Linked DNA regions of Homo sapiens: region 2 is linked to region 1. Evidence: promoter capture Hi-C in 16 types of primary human blood cells and fetal thymus (Javierre and others, 2016). All regions are on one chromosome and are shown on one strand. The core of a region is centred on a gene start or on the middle of the fragment in contact, and the rest is flanking DNA. Distances in the headings are between cores, read along the strand shown.

Region 1 (5,951 bases), core at 1,071-3,570:
TCTCAATAAAGAGTTTTGGATAAAGGATTTTGGACCTGCATCACTTTTCCCTGGCAAATAGCAGGTGATAATAAGTGCTTGTTGAATGACTAAACTCTGATTCATCCTTGAGACCATCAATTATTTGCCTGCCAGTCCTATGAATGTGTTGAGGCCATTTGCCCGGTGTACAATAGGCCACAGACAGCTATTTAAATTCTTCTGCCTGCCTTCTATAGTTTTTGCTTTGGTTTGTCTAGTATTCCATCTTGTTATGAAAGCCACCAGCTATAAATTCTTGAGGTTATCAATATCCCTACCTAAAAGAAGTTGCTTTTTCTCTTCCATTTTTCTGCAGCCCTAGGAGCAGACAACTAAGCTTGTATAAAGTAAACAAACTAGTTCAGAATGAAGCCTTAGGAGCTTTGTGTTGAGTCCCATGTACACTTTGAGACACCTATTTTGGCTGCTTCTTGGGCCTACTTCCTGATTCTCAAGGTTTGGGAAGATAGAAGTTCCCCAGTCACCAACTTCTCTGTCATGTTAAGGGGAATAATTTATATTTTTACCATTTCAGGTTAAAAATAACTTCATATTATTAAGCATTAGAAAAGTAAGCTCCCTGAGGGCAAGGATTTTTGTCTGTTTTGCCCACAGCTGTATTCCTAATGCCTAAAACAAATATTTAATGAAGGAAGAAGCACCCTGAGTTTGAGAGAGAATATTTTGTCCTGATAGCTCCAGAAGATGGTATTTCTTGAGGAAATCCTGGATGTGTAGATAGAGCAGATGTTGTGAAATGCCAAAGTTAAAAGCAGATGAAGAGGCCAGGCGCGGTGGCCCACACCTGTAATCCCAGCACTTTCAGAGGCCAAGGTGAGAGGATTGCATGAGCTCAGGAACTTGATACCAGCCCGGGCAACAGAGCAAGACTCTGTCTCTACAAAAAATTAAAAAAATTAACCAGGTGTAGTGGCATGTGCCTGTAGTCCCAGGTACTTGACAGGCTGAGGCAGAAGGATTGCTTGAGAATAAGCTGCAGTGAGCCGTGGTCATGCCTCTGCACTCCAGCTTGGGAGACAGAGCAAGACCCTGTCTCAAAAAGAAAAAAAAAAAAAGCAGATGAAGTTAGAACTATGTTTTAAATGATAATATGATAATATTCAGAAATAGTTTGGTAGATCAACTCTTCAAGGATGGGGAAAAAACTGTCAGTATAAATACTTTATAACGTGCCTTAATTTCCAGACAAAAAGGCAAAATATTATTTTAAACAAAATGCCATTTTAAAAGGTCTAGAGCTAGAGCAAGCTGGTCTAACCCGAGGCCCATGGGCCGCTTTGAATGTGGCCCAACACGCATTCGTAAACTTTCTTAAAACATTGAGGTTTTTTTGCGAATTTTTTTTTTCTTTTAGGTCATCAGCTATCCTTAGTGTTAGTGTATTTTGTGTGTGGCCCAGGGAAGCCAAAAGATTGGACACTCCTTCTCTAGACTCAGTCTAGAACCCTCTCTCTACTACAGCTAAGATGAATGTGTGCTTTATTCTGAGCTAAATGTCTTAGAGGAAGGTGCAGAGGTATGGAAAGTTCCTCCATACCGGAAAACACAGTGAGGATGCCTGGGGAGTACAGAGGGAATTATGTGGCGTGCAGATTTGAATGCATGGATGAGACTTGAGAATTCTGATTGAGGACGTAAGGCCTGTGCGAGAGCCCAAAAAGCGTTCTCAGAACAAAGTAGCAAGGGGCGCGTATGAATTGCTGTGGTATCATCCGCAAGGGCTTTCAGAGGGGAAAAAGGACAAGGTTGGAAGGAGGCAGTTATGTTATGGGATGTAGGCAGGAATAAGAAGCAGTGCCAGGTAAGAGGGAGGAATCCAGGGGGATTCCTCTGGGGAAATCATGGGGAAAGGACTGTAGAAGAATTCGGCCTAGGTGGGATTCTGCAGACCAGCTGCAGGTGCAAGGACTAAAGTGAGCATGGGTGGAACCTAAGGGATGAAAAGACTGCAGGATCCTAAAGCGGCGGCCCAATCTGGAAGTGTCCGGGCTTTGGCCCAGGGCCCGGGGAGGCCAGGGCACGCCAGCCCGGGCCTGACAAGCCACGTTCCTACCGGTCCGCAAGCGTCCGGCCGCAGGTCTTGGAAGTCCGCGCCGTAAATGGCCTCCAGGGCCTGTAGCTCGTGGTCCTGTCGTTGCGGGTAGCTCTCCGGAGGCTCGTCCCGGCCGCGCCCGGGGGCCCCACGGCCCCCAGCCATGGCAGCGCTGCGCCCAAGGCAGGGCGGCCTTGCCTGGGCGGCGGTGGGCCCCCGGCAGCCTGCGGGGCGGGGCTCCGCGCTGGGGACGGGCTATGGGCGGTGTTCCACGCTGGAAACGGGCTCGTGGGCGGGGTTCCGCGCCGGGGACGGGCCGTAGGCGGAGCTCCGCGCCGGGAGCTAGCTCCGGAGGCTCCAGAAGCCCAGGCGAAGGAAGAAGGCAGGGGGACAGCTTTGCCCACATCCTGCTGGGGGAAGGGGAGCAAAGGAACTCCACGAACTTAAGAAATGAATCACAGATAGGAATGAAAACGCCACATTGTATAGTTTTCACGAAACAAGTATCTTTAACAGAAGTGCTTGCTGGAACTTCTCCACCCTGGCATGGCTAGTGCGGGAAACTCTTTTTTCTTTTTTTTGGCAGAGTTTCGGCTCTTGTTCCCCAGGCTGGAGTGCAGTGGCGCGATCTCGGCTCACTGCAACTTCCGCCTGCCGGGTTCACGCGATTCTCCTGCGTCAGCCTCCAGAGTAGCTGGGACTACAGGCGCGCACCACCACGCCCGGCTAATTTTTCTATTTTTAGTAGAGATGGTGTTTCACCATGTTGGCCAAGATGTTCTCGATCTCCTGACCTTGTGATCCGCCCGCCTCGGCCTTCCAAAGTGCTGGGATTACAGGCATGAGCCACCGCGCCCGGCCGGGAAACTCTTAAAGGGCAGACGTCGATGGGTTCTGAGGTCACTTCTAATTTCACCTTGTACCTTCCCAGAACAAGACTACCGGGAGTAAAAATTGTGACCCCCCCCACCCTCCTTCCTCCCACTTTAGTACCCCCAAACTTATTCTCTGAGCCACAGATTCAACACCCTCATTATGTTCTCTGTCTCTACATTCCCCAGCTTTGGGGATCTCCACTACCACCTTGCAAATTCAATTGAAAACTGTCTTTCCACTCAGGCATCTTTATGAGCTACCTTCCCATGAAGAGAATCATGTTCCCTTCCCAGTTCACTCAGTGTGAATTTAGGGAGTCTTTGTGTTATATCCTGCCTCAAGTCGTCGTTTTTCAAGTTTATAAAATAATAACCTGTCTACCCAGACATTGTTATTGCACTTCATCTTCAGTAACTTACTAATGCTGCATGTCCATTTCGAATAATCCTATTGTACTAACCCAAGTTAGGTTTAAGTGACGTTTCTTCTGTCTACCTTGCTTACTCCTCCACTGTTCACTAAATAATGATTGTGTAAATTCCTTGCTGCCATCTATCCACTCATTTCTGGCCAGATAACACAAATGCACTAGCTTGACCCAAGGCCAATTTAAATCATCATCTTCCCTCTGCTGGAGACCCGTTCCTTCTCCAGTGATCTCTGACTAGGTAAATGGCACCATTCAACTGAGTGTGATTCTGAATTCCCTTTCTCTCAACTCACATCCAAATAGTCACCACTTCTGTCCATCCACTACACTCTAACCCATTGCCACTAACTTAGTTCAGGCTACTGTCACCAATTCCCTGGGTTACTTCAATAACTCTCTTAATTAGTCACTGTCTTCATTCTTGCCCCACATTAAGCCATTCTTCCTATTGCAGCCAGAGTAATGTTTCTAAATTGCAAATATGGCCATTGCACTCTAATCCTTAAAATTACTCCATTTCTCTATTGGTCTTTAAAAAAATTCTTTTAAACCTATATTTATGAAAATGTCAAACATACTTAGAAGTAAACTCCTCTGTACTCATCATCCAGCTTCAACAACCATAGATATTTTGTCAATTTTATTTCATCTCTTCTCTCCATCCCTCAGGAGTGTTTTTTTTAAGTCTCAATCATATCATTTTAAAAAATAAATACCTAAGGATATATCTCTAACTAGAAAAGGAACCAACATAACATATTACTAATCTTATACCCTAAAAATGTAACCCTTTGGCCAGGGACAGTGGCTCACACCTGTAATCCCAGCACAAGGTGGAGGATCACTTGAGGCCAGGAGTTTGAGACCAGCCTGGGCAACATAGCGAGGCCCCATCTCTACAAAAAATAAAATAAAAAATTAGCTGGACGAGGTGACATGTAGTCCCACCCTCAGGAGGCTGAGTGGGAGGATTGCTTGAGCCCAGGAGTCCAAGGCTGCAGTGAGCTGTGATTGCACCACTGCACTCCAATCTGGGCAACAGAGTAAGACCTTGTCTCTTAAAAAAAAATTAACAATTTCTTAGCATCGTTTAATACCTAATCTATGTTCAAATATTTCCATTGTGTAAAATTAGAATCTATACTGGACGCTGGACCTATAAAAGATATAATTAAAACAAACAGCAAAATTTGAAAGGAATCTGTGGATTACATGGCAGTATTATACCAAATGCAGCATTAAGGGGGCAGTGACGTATTAAATATGCAGTTAGCTCCCAAATGATTCAGGAAAAAGAAGAGAGATGATGCTAAATCAAATGTAGAATGTTGAACATTGGAGAATTTAGGTGAAGGATATATGAGAGCTCTTTGAGTGACTTGAAAATTTTATGTAAGTTGGAAATTATTTTAAAGTCAAAGTTCAAAGCAAAAAAAATAAGAAACTGTCAAAGTGTTTTCCAAAGTGGTTGTACCACTTTATATTCCCATCAGTTTATGGGAGTTCCAGTTGTTCTACCTCTTTGCCAGTAATTGGTATTGTAATGTTTTTAATCTTAAACATAGTAATTGGTGCTTAGCAGTATCTCAGTGTGTCTTAACTTGCATTATCCTAATGATTAATGATGTTGGGCATCTTTTCATGTGATTATTTTCCATTCATATATCGTCTGTCTTCTGTTTTTATTCACATCTTTGGTGCATTTTAAAAATTTTGTTTTTGTTTTCTTATTAACTTTTGAGAAATATTTATATATTCTGGACATGTATTTTTTTTTTTTTTTTTGAGATGGAATCTCACTCTGTCACCGAGGCTGGAGTGCAGTGGTGCGATCGCAGCTCACTGCAACCTCTGCCTCCCGGGTTCAAGCAGTTCTCCTGCCTCAGCCTCCCGAGTAGCTGGGATTACAGGCATATGCCACCACGCCCAGCTAATTTTTGTAGTTTTAGTAGTGACGGGGTTTCACCATGTTGGCCAGGCTGGTCTTGAACTCCTGACCTCGTGATCTGCTCGCCTCAGCCTCCCAAAGTGCTGGAATTACAGGTGTAGGCCACTGCACCAGGCCGGACATGTCTTTTATCAGATATGTGACAGGCAAAAATATTCACCCAGTCTGTGGCTTGCTTTTTCATTCTCTTAACTGTATTTCAAAGAGCATGTTTCTTACTTTAGAGGACATTTAATTTGTCATTTTTTTCTTACATGAATTATGTTTTGCAGTCATATCTAAGAAATATTTGCCTATCCCAAGGCCAAAAAGGTTTTCTTCTATGTCTTCATCTAGATAGTGTTAGATTTTACCTTTTGGCCTATCATCCATTTTAGTTAAAAACTTAAGCATATACCTACTATATGAAACAGCAATTCCATCCCAGGCATTTACCCAAGAGAAACAAAAGCGTATGTCCATACAATGACTTGTATGTAAATATTTGTAGCACCTTAATTTGTAATATCCCCAAACTGGAAACAAACCAAATGCCCACCAACACAAGATGGACATATTGAAGTATAAACAAATTGAGGTATATCAATACAATGAAATACTATTCAGCAATAAAAAGAAATACA
Region 2 (5,951 bases), core at 1,254-3,753, 1.5 Mb after region 1:
TGAGGCACAGGCCACTCAGATTTGCCACCCATTCACTTGTGGTTTTCATCTATTACCTCTTGGACACTCCCCAACATCCCCTTTGCTCAGTTTTCCTCTCCACCTCTATTCTTGCCATTACACTGAGTTTCTTTAATGTCTGTATGTATACCCTATCTCACACCCTGAGCTCTCAATTCCAACCTGCACATGTCACTCAGCCCCCCTTGCACCCTTGCCATTACTTACAACCACTGCACCTCCAAAATCACTTATCCAAACATGTGGCTCCCTGACCACAACCTCTTATTTATCCTTCCACTTGCTTCTTCGACCACTCACCTATAACTATTCTTTGATATCATCATTACCTCCATTCATTGATTCCTCTGCATTCTCCATATTTACCAACTCTCTCCTATCTTCACATTCTTCTGTATCCAATTTAGATTCTAAGGTGTATCATTTCATTTTGGTGCTCAATAAATACCAACTGAAGAAATTAATCTGTTGGGGCGTGGTGGCTCACACCTGTAATCCCAACACTTTGAGAAGCCAAGGCAGGAGATCATTTGAGGCCAGGAGTTCAAGACTAGCCCGGGTATCATAACAAGACCCTGTATCTAAAAAATTTTTTAAAATAAAGAGAAATGAATCCTTGAATTTTAATATCCAATCAATCACTAAGTTCAGTAATGTAGTTCTTCCCATATCCACTGCCACTAAGCAACCATCATTTCTTTCACAGACTATTAACTAAATTCTCCAATCTATTTTCCATCTTGCTGACAGATGTAACTTTCAAACTAGACATCTAACCACTCCCTTTTTATTTAAAATTATTCGATCACATCCCATTGCTGTTATGATCAAGAATAAAATCCACAACACAGACTAAAAGGGGCTGCATGCCCTGATTTTCACCTAACTCTTGAATCCAATTTCCCACCACTCTGCCCCTCACACTCTGCCTTCCAACCACATTAGCCTCCTTCCAGTTCTTCTAATACAGCAAGCTCCTTCACATTTCAAAGTCTTCACATTTTCTTCTCACTGTAAGGATATCTTTGTCCCCCTTTTTCATCCATCCAACCTTAACTACTTAATTTCTATTCACCCTTCTTATTTCAACTCAAATGTCACTTCCTCAGGAATCTATCACTAACCCCTAAGACTTCTTAGATCCTCCTGTTACATCACCCTGTTCTTTTCCTTTGACACATTTATTATAGTTTATAATTGTTTTTGTGATCATGTCTGTTTCTCCACTAGATTATAAACTCCACAAGGGTAGGAACCAAGTCTATTTTGCTCACCACTGACTCCTCAGAACGAGGTCCAATATACAGTGTGTTCAATAAATATTTAAAGGAAACTTCTCTCCATAGTAGTGTTTCTCAACTGAGTCTGTGAATCTTTTTAAAAATATGCAGGTCTGTACTGTACCTCTGAAGATTATGATTCGGTCAGTCTATGGTATATACTAGACTGGAACAGTTTTTCACAAGTTCCACACGACTCTGATGTACTTCCAGTGTTGAGATCTACTATTCCACAAAATCAGAGACTATCAGAACTGAAAGAGACTTCTAAAATCATCTGCTCCAGCCCTCTCTTTTCACAGATGAGAAAACTGACTGACTCCTAGCCTATCCTGTTTTCACCTGTATCACTAAATTGTCCTTTCACATAGATTTTTCCCTTCAAATGCCTCCCATTAATTTATTTTACATGACAAACTGAAGTACCTTTGCTGATATCCTCAATACCTTACAACAGAAAATGCATTATTCACTATCTACATGGATATTTGAAAACACAGTGTTCCATTACAACACATATTGTAAATAACTACTTTTTTCACATCGTATTATCATAGGAGAATTCAAACTTCAAAATGTTGCCCTCATAGTTATTCCAGGAAAAACTAATTTTGGAGTGTGTAAACTGTTTTACTTTCCATGTTGAATAATCTGACTAATTTTCCTTGATAAAAATCAAGATTATAGCAATGAATTTTCTAAAACACTTATAATATGAACAATAAGTTCAAGAAATGAAGAAAGAAGAAAAGCACTGCCTTTTCCTTTTTCATAAACCATTTATGAGTTCCCAATATTCTTACCTGAAGTACTTGGGAGCTCAAACTGTTTGGAGCCTAAATAATTCTACTAAGTATTTTCAGTTCTTGTTTTGGTTCCTTCTTAACCAAGTTAAGTGAGAACTTCCAAGGGACTTCACAGAAGTAAAAATGCCCCCTAAATAATCAATGGCACTGTTCTTTCGTTTGACAAATATGTATTCACGATCTACTAAGTGCAAGACTCCGTAACCCTGGGTCACTGCAAAGTAGGTATTATCAGGGTTCAACTAAAGAAACAATTGATAGAGGGGCAAATGCAGTTTTAGAGAAGATAAAGTGGGGTGTGGGATTGGTTCAAGCTTCATAATAACGCTGCAAAGGCACAGCTTCCCCTATCAAGAAACAGCAGCACGTAGCAGGGCAAACAAATGTGCAGATGGCTCCAAGCTCTTTATTTAATGTGCACTGTATGACTCAACTATCTGGTCCTATGCTTACTGCTGTGGACTCTTCTCTAAGCTTTTCTTCATTCATTTACTCATTCATTCAACCACTATTTACTGTAAAAGACTCCGTTCTAGTGTGTTGCTGGGAAAACATCGGTGAATAAAATATGCAAAGCATCAGTTTTCCAGGAGCTGACTTGGGGAGGAGGAGGAATAAAACGAGGGAGAAGCAGAGTTCAAGAGACAAATGAATGGGCAGGACATGATAATTTGGGATGGGGACAAGAGCTGTGTGGAAAAAAACAGGATGAGGTTGAGGGGGAGATTACGAACCACCACACTTGTTAAGTATTAACATTACTCCCACCTCCACCCTGAGTTCTCACAGCACTTACCATTCTGCACTGTAAATACCAGCCGGCAGCAGACTTGCAGCCTGCGCGACTATGTAAGCCAAGAGTAATCTGAAAAACTATCCTTTTCCCTTGCCTAGGGGAAATTTACAAACGTAAATATGTGTAAATTAATATACAAGCTAATATACACGTTGACGAACGGACGAAATGGTTGAAAGAACGAACTCGCAATGAACTACAACACTTTCTCCGGTCAAAGTAAAAGCCATTCGCTCCAGAGCCCCAAGTAAGCCACAAGTTGTACATTGTAGGAGACAACAGTCCTCAACAGCAGCTCAGGTTCCAGCACCTCCCTCCGGGCGCCAGAACTACGTCAACACAAATATCACCTGCGGGCGCGAGCTAGCCCAGAAAACCGGTGCTAGAAGGGCCGCTCCGCGCCACCCGGCGGATTCCTGCAACAGAGTTTCGAGGCAAGAAGTTTCGAAGAGGGGGCCACGAACCCCAGCTCTCCGGCCCTGCTCCACCCCCCAAATAGATTTCTCTCCCGCCTCCCGCTTAACTCCGTCGGCGCCGGAGGGATCGAGGCAGGGAAGGAGGCCTACACATGGCCGCCCAGGCCCACAGAGGCCCAAGGGAAGTAGGCTAAGCAGCCAGGCCAAGGAGAGGTTGCGTTTTCAGGGAAAAGGCGTCTCCAAAAGCACTCACCCCAGCGCCTCCAGTGTGTCCAGCACGTCTCCCTCCATCGTCGGTTGGGGACCCGGCTCCGGCCCTCTCATGGTCCTTTGGCCCAGAGCTGTTCGGCGCTCTAAGTAGCCCGCCGGAAACTAGCGTCACCGCGCCAAGGTTCCGGTCCGGGTCTGGCCGGTAACTGCCTGAGAGCACAGCTGAAGAAGGGCGCAAAGGTTCCCAGCCCCGAGGCAATAAACACTTCATAGTGCCTAAAACCGCTGCGTGTAACGATAATAATTTTTTAAAAGAATAGTAGAAATAATAAATAATAGTAATAAAGAGTTCTCTGTGTTGGGACTTTTCTGTGTGTTCAAATAAATTTTAGCAAATATCGTGGTATCGGGTTGATCTCAACCTATCCGATTCCAGACCTTTTTAATAACAGAAATCTGAAATAAAATTATAATTATCTTCAGCTAAAATTAGTAACTAATATCACATGCCTACACATATAATTTTTAAATCAATATACACGACGATGCTTCAACTTGAAGGAAAAAATGAAGTAATTTATAACAAGGTAATATTTTTCTCCTTATGAAATGCGGAAGACCAATGAAGTGATCAGATGCTTGCATCTATCTATGTAGAATCCCCTCAACTGCATATTCAGATGATGTGCTTCATTGCTGACAAAGCATTAGTTGTATAAGCAACAAACATACCGCCAGCAAAGTAAGGTAGTTGATGTGGTTTTCCAAAATTGTGGCGAATTCTCTGTAAAGTTCCAAACAAACAAAACATAATATACCCTCTGTGTACTATCCATGAAGAATTCAATCTCTTATCTAAAGGATTTAAAAAATGTATTTTAGGGTTCATATGTAAAAGGTACTAAGAGTATAAGGTTAGATCATTATTAGCAGGCATGTCACCTACATGAATACTCTAGCAGAACTGTTGGAAATCCTGCATGAAGTATAACTATTGATCCCTTGTATGGACCTGTCCCTTCCATTGCAGACTACATAGCATTCGTAGCCCCAGTCCAATAAAGACCAGTAATGCTCTCGCCTTCCTAATTATGGTTACAAACAAAAAGCATACCCATAAATGTGTAAAACACTCAAAGGTAAGCTGTAGTAGTCCACTCTCATATTGCTATAAAGATATACCTGAGACTGGGTAATTTATAAAGAAAAGGGGTTTAATTGGCTCATGGTTCCACAGGCTGTACACGAAGCATGATGCTGGCATCTGCTCCACTCCTGGGGAGGCCTCAGGAAATGGACAGTTGTGGCAGAAGGGGAAGGGGGAGTGCAGCTATCACGTGGCCGGAGTAAGAGGAAGAGAGAGGGTGCAGGGAGGCAGGGAGGTGCCACACACTTTTTTTTTTTTTTTCAGTCTCGCACTGTCGCCCAGGCTAGAGTGCAGTGGCATGATCTCAGCTCACTGCAAACTCCGCCTCCCGGGTTCACGCGATTCTCCTGCCTCAGCCTCCCGAGTAGCTGGGATTACAGGCGCCCACCACCACACCCGGCTAATTTTTGTATTTTTAGTAGAGACGGGGTTTCACCAGGTTGGTCAGGCTGGTCTCGAACTCCTGACCTCGTGATCTGCCACACACTTTTAAAAAACCAGATCTCATGATAAACTCACTCACTATACAGTGCCAAGGCAGGAATGGTGTCAAACCATTCAAGAGAACTCTGCCCTCATGATCCAATCACCTCCCACCAGGTCCCTCCTCCAACATTGGGGATTATAATTTAACATGAGATTTGGGCACAGACACAGATCCTAACCATATCATAAACTCAACCATACATTTGTATAATGACTATTATTACTGTATATTTTAGTGTTGTACAAGGCTTAAGCGTAAAATTACTTGCAGTTTAATGTATCTGAATTCATCTCCAAATAAGGGAGAGGAGAATGTATATTAGTGGTTACTGCCTCTTGTCAGAGTTGGGGTGTCATAGAAGGTACTAGTCTTAGTACTCTTGGCAAAAAGTCTCTGTAAAAATCAAATAGAAATGAGGTAACTGTTCTTTATTATTATTGATCTTAAGTGTTCTGCTGCTGGTTTTCCTAAAAAATCTAAATAAATGAATAACAAAAGTTATGCACAGAAAAAGAACTAAAAACAAACAAAAAAGCATGACTGGCCTAGCATGGTGGCTCGCATCTGTAATCCCAGCACTTTGGGAGGCTGAGGTGGGAGGATCACTTGAGTCCAGGAGTTTGAGACCAGCCTGGGCAGCAAAGTGAGACCATATCTCTACAACAAATTTAAAAATTAGTCAGGTATGGTGGTATGCACTTGTAGTCCTAGCTATTGAGGAAGCTAGGGCAGGACGATCAGGATTGCTTGAGCCCAGGAGGCCGAGGCTGCAGTGAGCTGTAATCAAG

Evidence for each region. Contacts are between HindIII fragments. The CHiCAGO score rates a contact against its expected background, and 5 or more counts as called.
Region 2: a contact is called between a fragment that was not itself captured here and the fragment with the promoter of EIF2AK4 in region 1, in 1 of 17 cell types (non-activated CD4 T cells). The highest score is 5.9, in non-activated CD4 T cells.

The regions. Positions count from the first base shown.
Region 1 is chr15:39,930,484-39,936,434 of GRCh38, reverse strand. It overlaps EIF2AK4 (eukaryotic translation initiation factor 2 alpha kinase 4), which reads right to left and starts at 2,320. Exons shown (of 39, transcript NM_001013703.4): 1 at 2,096-2,320. The coding sequence starts at 2,239. RefSeq lists a silencer at 2,038-2,447 and an enhancer at 2,468-2,607. The HindIII fragment of the contact is 8,824 bases long and covers 361-5,951 here.
Region 2 is chr15:38,451,854-38,457,804 of GRCh38, reverse strand. FAM98B (family with sequence similarity 98 member B) reads right to left here and starts at 3,678. Exons shown (of 8, transcript NM_173611.4): 1 at 3,573-3,678. The coding sequence starts at 3,643. RefSeq lists enhancers at 3,261-3,360, 3,421-3,530. The HindIII fragment of the contact is 160 bases long and covers 2,424-2,583 here.